3 separate regions of the Homo sapiens genome follow, and all the other regions are linked to region 3. The links are contacts of gene promoters, found by promoter capture Hi-C in blood cells and fetal thymus (Javierre and others, 2016). All regions are on one chromosome and are shown on one strand. Each heading gives the region's core, a stretch centred on a gene start or on the middle of the fragment in contact. The rest is flanking DNA. Distances are from core to core; before and after follow the strand shown. Region 1 overlaps ATP4A (ATPase H+/K+ transporting subunit alpha). Region 2 holds the start of KRTDAP (keratinocyte differentiation associated protein). Region 3 holds the start of PRODH2 (proline dehydrogenase 2).

The links. The method cuts DNA at HindIII sites, captures the fragments that hold promoters and counts their contacts. A CHiCAGO score of 5 or more calls a contact.
Region 1: a contact is called between a fragment that was not itself captured here and the fragment with the promoter of PRODH2 in region 3, in 1 of 17 cell types (M0 macrophages). The highest score is 5.6, in M0 macrophages.
Region 2: a contact is called between a fragment that was not itself captured here and the fragment with the promoter of PRODH2 in region 3, in 1 of 17 cell types (M0 macrophages). The highest score is 5.3, in M0 macrophages.

Annotation. Positions count from the first base shown.
Region 1 is chr19:35,548,373-35,551,072 of GRCh38, reverse strand. It overlaps ATP4A (ATPase H+/K+ transporting subunit alpha), which reads left to right. Exons shown (of 22, transcript NM_000704.3): 20 at 1-63; 21 at 148-239; 22 at 430-1,042. The coding sequence ends at 458. Among named protein-coding and RNA genes, the nearest start is that of TMEM147-AS1, 3.7 kb to the right of the region's middle. The HindIII fragment of the contact is 2,360 bases long and covers 217-2,576 here.
Region 2 is chr19:35,488,518-35,491,217 of GRCh38, reverse strand. It overlaps KRTDAP (keratinocyte differentiation associated protein), which reads left to right and starts at 754. Exons shown (of 6, transcript NM_207392.3): 1 at 754-862; 2 at 2,378-2,416; 3 at 2,515-2,556. The coding sequence starts at 776. The HindIII fragment of the contact is 3,143 bases long and covers 1-2,700 here.
Region 3 is chr19:35,811,298-35,814,213 of GRCh38, reverse strand. It overlaps PRODH2 (proline dehydrogenase 2), which reads left to right and starts at 1,369. Exons shown (of 10, transcript NM_021232.2): 1 at 1,369-1,582; 2 at 1,658-1,854; 3 at 1,942-2,080; 4 at 2,166-2,252. The coding sequence starts at 1,409. The HindIII fragment of the contact is 7,636 bases long and covers 1-2,916 here.

The DNA.
Region 1 (2,700 bases), core at 147-2,646, 260 kb after region 3:
CATCGGCTGCTTCCTGTGCTACTGCCCCGGCATGCCCAACATCTTCAACTTCATGCCCATTCGGTGAGAGGCTGTGAGGGGCAAGGACAGGGAGGGGGCTGTAGGGCACAGGCCTGGGATGGCCTTCACCTTGCCATGTGCCTTCAGGTTCCAGTGGTGGCTGGTCCCCCTGCCCTACGGCATCCTCATCTTCGTCTATGATGAGATCCGGAAGCTTGGAGTTCGCTGTTGCCCAGGGAGTGAGTGTGGAGACTGGGAGCCTGGGGGCAGGGGACTGAAACGTTTGAGCAGCTGCACCCACCTTTGATCCTCAACACTTGGCCTCTAAGCCCTTGACCCTCCATAGCAACCAGCACTGACCTCTGAGCCCCTGGCCCTGCCTAAGTGGCACCCCCAGCACTGAGTCTCCTTTCTCCCTCTCTCTCCCAGGCTGGTGGGACCAGGAACTCTACTATTAGAGGGACGACTGCCTTCAAGCATCCCTGCAACTGCCACAGCAGGTGGGGGCAGGGCTCGTGGGACCCTCTGGACAGCCACCAAGATATCTGAGCAACCAAGAGTCCCAGCCCCACCAGTATCTGCTTCTGTAGCCCACGGCACCCCAAACTTGGAGGGACCTGCCCACTCCCCTCCCCCATTCCCAAGGTTCGCACCTCCTGGAGCAGCAGCGCCTGGGCAGTCCTCTGGGCTGGCCTCGGGAAAGCCGCCACCTGTGGTGGCGGTGGGGCTCTGACAGGGAGTACAGCTGACCGCTTCTGGAGGGTGTTTCTGTTCTTAGGACTCCAGTCCAGGCTGGACGGCTGCCTGAGGGCCCTTCGTTAAAGACACGCTTGTGTCCTGGGCGATGGTAATAAAACCAGCTCATGCTGACTGTGCTGTATCTGGTGCCAGGCACTGTCCTCAGCGTCTCTCATTAGTGCTTGTGATCTCCCACAGTCCTGTACATGGGGGCTGTTTATCCAGGGCTGCACCTCCAGTGCCTAGTACACAGCCTGGCACATAGTAGGTCCTCAATAAACCTGCCTTGGGGAAATGATTCCTATTCCTTTGCCCAGGGTCATGGCATCTAAACGCAAGCTGGGCCGTGGCGATAGGCACCCCCTACCACCTCTGGGCTTTCTCTGTTCTCAGCACCCTTCTCCCTCCTGGAGGCTCCCAGACACAAGGGGGCCCAAGTCATTTCCACATCAAGCATCCCCCACCCCCCAGCGGTGTCTCCTTTCTGAGCCTACCTGCTTACTCCTCTGTCCCGGCAATGGCCAGTTCCTGAACAACTCCTGGAGGTCCCCTCCTCACACCCCTCACCTGAAAGGTTAACCCCATCCCCCTACCTCCCATCTCTGCCGCTCCTTTCCCAGCCCCTCTGTTCACCTCTCTTCCTCTTTCTTATGTGGCTTTCTCTGGCTAGGGCCTGGGCTTCTCCTTCCTTGTGACCACAGCCCCCCAGTCCCCCATGGCTTCAGTTGTTTCTGCAGTGAGACCCACCTCTGTCCCCAGCTTCCCCCAGTGTTGGTGACCTACACTGGCCTCTTCATCACCCCCCATGCCTGTACCCATGCACTGACCCAATCTGATAGTCCCACTGTCCCATCAGTGTGGTCCCTTCTCCCTTGGAAACGTGGTGAGCCCTCGGGCTTACAAGCCCCAAACTCCAGTTATCCTGGAACTCTTTGCTCCTCCCTTACCTGTTAGCGCCCCCTGCCGGTAAATAAATACACACAGCCACTGATCACCAACACCTGGGCTTGGCTTCTAGTCACTCTCCTAACCCCACAAAGCCCTGCCCTGGTCCAGCCCTGGCCTCGTGGCCTCAGCTTTCCCATTTCAGACAACAGCCATGCAGAGCTTCCTAAAGCCAAATCTGACCCTGTCCTTCCTCTGCCTAGAGCTCTCCTTGGTTCCCAAAGCCTCCTGTGATCTGACCCCTGCCAGCTTCTGTAGTCTTACAAGTCCCCTTGAACTCATTCCAACCAGTTATGTTCCCTTGGGAAAAACAGGCCCCCTCTCTGACCTCAAGACCATTACCTCTGCCTTGCCCCAATCACTCATTCTTTAGGTCTCAGCTCACATGTCCTCTGCTCAGGGGAGCCCGCACTGCTTCCACGGCAGGCCAGGCGGCTCCTCTGGGTCCCCATAACCCGGGGTTTTCCCATCATAACCCCGATCACCTGAAGCCTGGCTCCCCACAGTCCAACCGCCCAGGCTTCACCGTCCTCTGCCAACTCAGGCCCAGCCACTCCAGTCTCTCTCCCTGAACCCCATGTAAGCTGGGATTATTCCAGTTGGTAATTTTGCATCCTACACTTGTCTCAATATGTGTGAAGAGCTATGTGGGGCATGGAAGTGTGGGAGAAAGTGACCTTGTCACAAGTCCACCCAGATAGACTGCCCCATCTACTTCCTTTCTACATCAAAGTCAAGGTGATCAATCACTTCCAGCTCCCAAGAGACCCATGGACCCTGTCTTTACTCCAAACAATGAGGAAGAGTGGCCTAGATGGCAGCTGCCGTCTGAAGGCAAATGCTCCCTCTGGAAACATCGAGATGGTCATAGTGAGCTTTCCTAGGCCTAAGCTTAAAAAAAATCAGGTGGAACTTCAACGGCCTGGTGGAGGAGGAGGGGCAATGGTGCTATCCTACTCCCTGGGGTACCCCACTGGGAACACCAAGGATGGGGAGCATCTTCCTGAGTGGGGAGGG
Region 2 (2,700 bases), core at 119-2,618, 320 kb after region 3:
CCTTCAATGCCAAGCTAAAGAGTTTACATAGATTTTGGTAGGGTGGAAGAAAAGGCCTGAATGAGCATGGAGCGCAGGCTCACACCTATAGTCCTTTGGGAGGTCAAGGCAGGCGGACCCCTTGAGTCCAGGAGTTTGAGGCCAGCTTGGGCAACATGGCGAGACATTTTCATCTCTACGAGAAAATTAAAAAAAAAAAAAGCTGCAACATCTCTACAAGAAAATAAAAAAGTTAGCTAGGTGAGGTGATGCGTGCCTCTAGTCCCAGCTACTAGGGAGACTGAGGTGGGAGGATTGCTTGAGCCTGGGAGGTCAAGGCTGCAGTGAGCTGTGATCACACCACTGCACTCCAGTCTGGGCAACGAGTGAGAGCCTGTCAAAAAAAAAGAAAAGAAAAGAAAAGAAAAAGCCTGAATTCTAAGAGAGGAATGAGGGATATAACGAAAAGAGACAAAGACAAAAGGAGAGGTTGCTTGGGTACCACTGCCAATCCCTTGGAGGGACAGGTCCAACCTGTCTCTGTCCCAGCCCCATCTGCATGAAGAGACCCATTGCAGTGTTACCTTCCACGTGCCTGGGGCAGAATGCGAATTGAGAAATCCGAGGCAAATGAGGAACAGTCCATGCCTCCCCCTCCCAGAGCCCCGGGGGTGGGCGACAAGATCTGGGGGTGAGTCAGTGGGGTGGGGACCCCATTTCTGTGCTCATCTGCCTCCTTGGCAATATAAAGAGCAAGCACTGAGGCCCCGCCTCAGAGCACCCCAAACTTGACGCCATGAAGATCCCGGTCCTTCCTGCCGTGGTGCTCCTCTCCCTCCTGGTGCTCCACTCTGCCCAGGGAGCCACCCTGGGTGGTCCTGAGGTGAGCACGTCACCTGCATTTTTATTCTTATACGTGTTACCCACCTACCCCTCCATCTCTCTACCTCCTGTCCATTCCTGGATAAGTGGCTCTTAGTTTTGGATTCTGATGGGGGCTGAAGAAACTGGGGCTCTGAGGAAGGGAGGAGGGAACAGAGCATCCCTGGGGAGACATTTGGGACAGAGATGCTCCTCTTTCTGGAAGGGATGGTGAAGTGTGTTGGGGAGGCTCGTGTACTGAACCTTGGGACTGAGTGGGTGGTCTGGGTTCAGACTATCTCCACCATGGGCTCTCAAGAGTGTTCACCCATTCCGTTCCAGCTGCACACATGCCTGGGGACGTGCAGGGGAAGAGGGGGAACTGGAGAACGGCAATGTGAGGCAGAGCAGCTCCAAACCCAGGCCTGCATCCACATGGGCAGCAGGTGGAGAGGGTGAAGCAAAGCAAAAAACTAGCTAGTTCTGCCTGCAGCTGACTTAACTCAAAGAGGAGTGGGGCTGGGGTGTTCTGGAGACACCCCTGCTTAGCTCCTCTTTGCTTCATTTGTGCCCCTGGGAGTGGTGCCCAGGTGACGGGTGGCTCCCTGCTGTCTCTGGAGCATAGGCCACAGTGAGAATCTTTACCATCCAGTCCTCAGCCAGAGAGGAATCCTGATGCCTATTCCGGATTTAAAAGTCTAAGACAGGGGCACAGGCTCAGCTGCTAAGGACCAAGCCAGTGGTGTCACTGAGCTGGGGGGGCTGTCAGGGCCTGAGGTGAAATGGGGCCAACTTTCCCAGTCTGAAAGGGCAGCTTTCACCCCACCTGACGCCATGGATTGGGAAGATGTGCCTAGAGTTTTACATTTTTCAGGGGAAACTAGAAATCTGGATGAATTTATGAATTCTTACTAATTCAAAATGTCTAATTCAAACCAAAAAACAAATGACCAAATTTTTATGAGATCTAAGCATCTGGATCCAGCCTGCGGGCTCCGTGTTGGGCTCTGTCATGGGGAAGACACGATGGGACACACTGAGGCCTGGGGTGGGGTCCCCATGGAGGGGGATTATGGAACCTCCAACAGTGGTGGCAATAAATCCACAAAGCAAAGCAACCTCGATCAGTGAGAGGCAGGCGGGTCACCTCAGCAGCTGGGCTCCCACCTGCTCGCAAATCTTTCCCATCCAGCTATACGGACTGAGCGTGGGTGTCTCCAGAACACCCCACCTCTTAGACTTAAGTCAACTGCAGGACAGCACTAGCTAGCTTTTCCGGAGAGGAATGCTCGGCTCCAGGCTTTCTGCCTGCTGCCCATGGTGACACTGCTTACATGTACCATTCTCCAATTCCCCCTCCTCACCCTGCACATCCGCCAACCATGTGCGCGACTGGAACGGAGACCATGGTGGGGAATGGGTTGCGTTCTTTCGGGGACTGGGCTGTGGATGAAGGCAGAGCTGGCAGACAGGGATGTGGGCAAGGGCCCTGGCATCACGTGACCCCCTGCCGCCTTTTCTCCCTCTCCTTTTCCAGGAAGAAAGCACCATTGAGAATTATGCGTCACGACCCGAGGTAAGCCGTCTGTTTTCCCCGGCCCTCCAGCCACGAGTCTGTCCTCTCTCTCTTTTTGCTTCTTAGCAACTTTCCTAACACCCTGCGTTTCTGCCTAGGCCTTTAACACCCCGTTCCTGAACATCGACAAATTGCGATCTGTGAGTACGCTTCTCTGGTGCTACCCCCACGAATACCCTCATCACAGAGGGGATAAACGCCTTGGTAGAGAGCTTGCAAAGCTGCCACGGTTCCTTCACCTTCTCCAGAGGGCTGGGGGCTAAGCTCTGGCCTCCCCTGGAGCT
Region 3 (2,916 bases), core at 120-2,619:
CCACCTCTCTGACTTCTGTGATAATCATGTCCTTACTTTTCTTGTCCTCATAGTTTGACCACCCACGCATGTATTCCCAACATTTTACTGCAGTTTCACTTTCCTTGCTTTTATATTTATTGAAAAGTATAGACCAGCCACAGTGGCTCATGCCTGTAATCCCAGCACTTTGGAAGGCTGAGGCGGGCAGATCACCTGAGGTCGGGAGTTCAAGACCAGTCTGACCAACATGGAGAAACCCTGTCTCTACTAAAAATACAAAATTAGTGGGGCGTGGTGGCACATGCCTGTAATCCCAGCTACTCTGGAAGCTGAGGCAAGAGAATCGCTTGAACCCGGGGGGTGAAGGTTGCAGTGAGCTGAGATTGTGCCATTGCACTCTAGCCTGGGCAACAAGAGTGAAACTGTGTCTCAAAAAAAAAAAAAAAAAAAAAAAAAAAAGAATAATACAGCTTGCCCTGTTTGGTGTCTGGCTTCTTTCACTTGACATTGTGAGATTCAGCCACACAGTTGTGTGTATCAGTATCCATTCTTTTTCATTACTGTATAGTATTCCATTGCATAACTACACCACCATATATGTATCCATTCTCCTTTTGATGGACATTTGGGTAGTTCAGACACTGCTCCTCTGAACATTCTTTCCTGTACATGTTTCCTGCTGTCCATGTTTAAGGTCTCTAGGATATGTACTTAGCATGGAACAGCTGGGTTATATAGGTTATTTGTCTTTTCTTTTTTCTTTTTTTGGCGACAGAGTCTCACTTTGTCACCCAGGGTGGAGTGCAGTGGCACAATCACAGCTCACTGCACCCTTGACCTCCCAGGCTCAAGAGATCCACCTTCCTCGGCCTCCTGAGTAGCTAGGACCACAGGTGTGTGCCACCACACACAGTTAATTTTTGTATTTTTTGTAGAGATGGGGTCTCACTATGTCGCCCAGGGTAGTCTCAAACTCCTCGGTCTTGGCCTCCCAAAGTGTTGGGATTACAAACGTGAGAACCGTATTTTCAAATGTATTCAATAACACTACAGCGTTTCCAATTTTAAGAGGAAGCAATTGCCACAAAAGTGATTAAGTAGCCTGTCCTGGATCACAAAGCCCGGTGTCCTGAGCCCAGGGATCCTTGCTCCGGAGCCCCTGCTTTCCCCAGCACATGGTGGTTACCTAATAAGTGCAGGCTGTTGTGCTGAGCATTCTTGGGGGCTGTTACTGGGGTTCACCTCCCGTTTCCGTTACTCTGAACTCTGTCCCCATTTGTTAATAATTAATTGCCCCCAAGGAGCCTGTGATCCTGAGGCTTTGCCCAGTTAATCAGTCACTGCCCCTGGTCTGGGCAAGGGGCAGTTGGTGAACTTGCTGCCTCCAGAGAACCTTCCCTGGTGTGGAGGCAGCCAGGGACCCAGGATGCTCCGGACCTGTTACGTGCTCTGTTCCCAAGCTGGTCCCCCCTCCAGGGGCTGGCAGTCCCTGAGCTTTGATGGCGGGGCCTTCCACCTTAAGGGCACAGGAGAGCTGACACGGGCCTTGCTGGTTCTCCGGCTGTGTGCCTGGCCCCCACTCGTCACTCACGGGCTGTTGGTGAGCAGTGATCCTGAGGACCAGCCTGGAGGCTCCTCATAGCCTGGCGCTGAGCCCTCGCTCCCTGTCACCCAGCTCCAGGCCTGGTCTCGGCGACTCCTGGGCTCCCGGCTCTCAGGCGCATTTCTCCGAGCATCCGTCTATGGGCAGTTTGTGGCTGGTGAGACAGCAGAGGAGGTGAAGGGCTGCGTGCAGCAGCTGCGGACCCTCAGCCTCCGACCACTGCTGGCAGTGCCCACTGAGGAGGAGCCGGACTCTGCTGCCAAGAGTGGGTGAGTAGGGAGCCAGGGCCCAGGGAGGCTGGGAGGACGCAGGAAGGGGCTTTGCTGTTCGGGCCCTGACACCTGCTGGCTGGGCAGTGAGGCGTGGTATGAGGGGAACCTCGGTGCTATGCTGCGGTGTGTGGACCTGTCACGGGGCCTCCTGGAGCCCCCCAGCCTGGCTGAGGCCAGCCTCATGCAGCTGAAGGTGACGGCGCTGACCAGTACTCGGCTCTGTGTAAGGAGTGCAAAGACGGGGGTGCGGGGAGGGCGCGGCTGCCCATCGGGCTCCCCTCACCACCCCGCCTACCACCCCATTTCAGAAGGAGCTAGCCTCGTGGGTCAGAAGGCCAGGAGCCTCCTTGGAGCTGAGCCCCGAGAGGCTGGCTGAAGCTATGGACTCTGGGCAGGTAAGGATCTCAAGCGGGACTGTCGGGGACAGAGTGCCTTGGACTTAGATGCGGCCACACCGCACGCCAGATGTTCAAAATGCTACGGCCACCTCCAGGCTTGGAACAGCCAGCAGAAGTGCAGCTGTAGCTCCCAGGCATGGTTGAAATGGATGGAATCAGGGTCATCTGGGTTCTCAGGGAGGAGCCTGGAGGCTGGAGGCTCTCAGAGGAGGGATTGGGATAGAAGCTGTTTATCAATTAGAAGGAGGTACATCAGTGTGTTCTCAGTCAACACAGCTGCATGGGTGTGAGCTGGCTGGGTGTAAGTTCTGATTAGGCCAATGGGGTCTTAGTTTGTTCATTCAATCATTAATTCCTTTTTATCTCCACATTCTCTTTCAACCCTACTCCATCTTTTTTTCTTTCTTTCTCTCTCTCTCCTTCCTTCCTCTTCCTCTTTTGCTCTCTCTCCTTCCTTCCTTCTTTTCTTTTTCCTTCTCTCCCCTCCCTCCCTCCCTCCCTTCCTTCCTTCCTTCCTTTATTCCTTCCTTCCTTCCTTCTCTCTCCTCCCTCCTCTCTCTCTCTCTCTCTCTTTCTCTTTGTCTTACTGTATTGCACAGGGTGGTCTCTAACTCATGGCCTCAAGCAATCCCCCAGCCTCAGCCCCCCAAAGTTCTGGGAT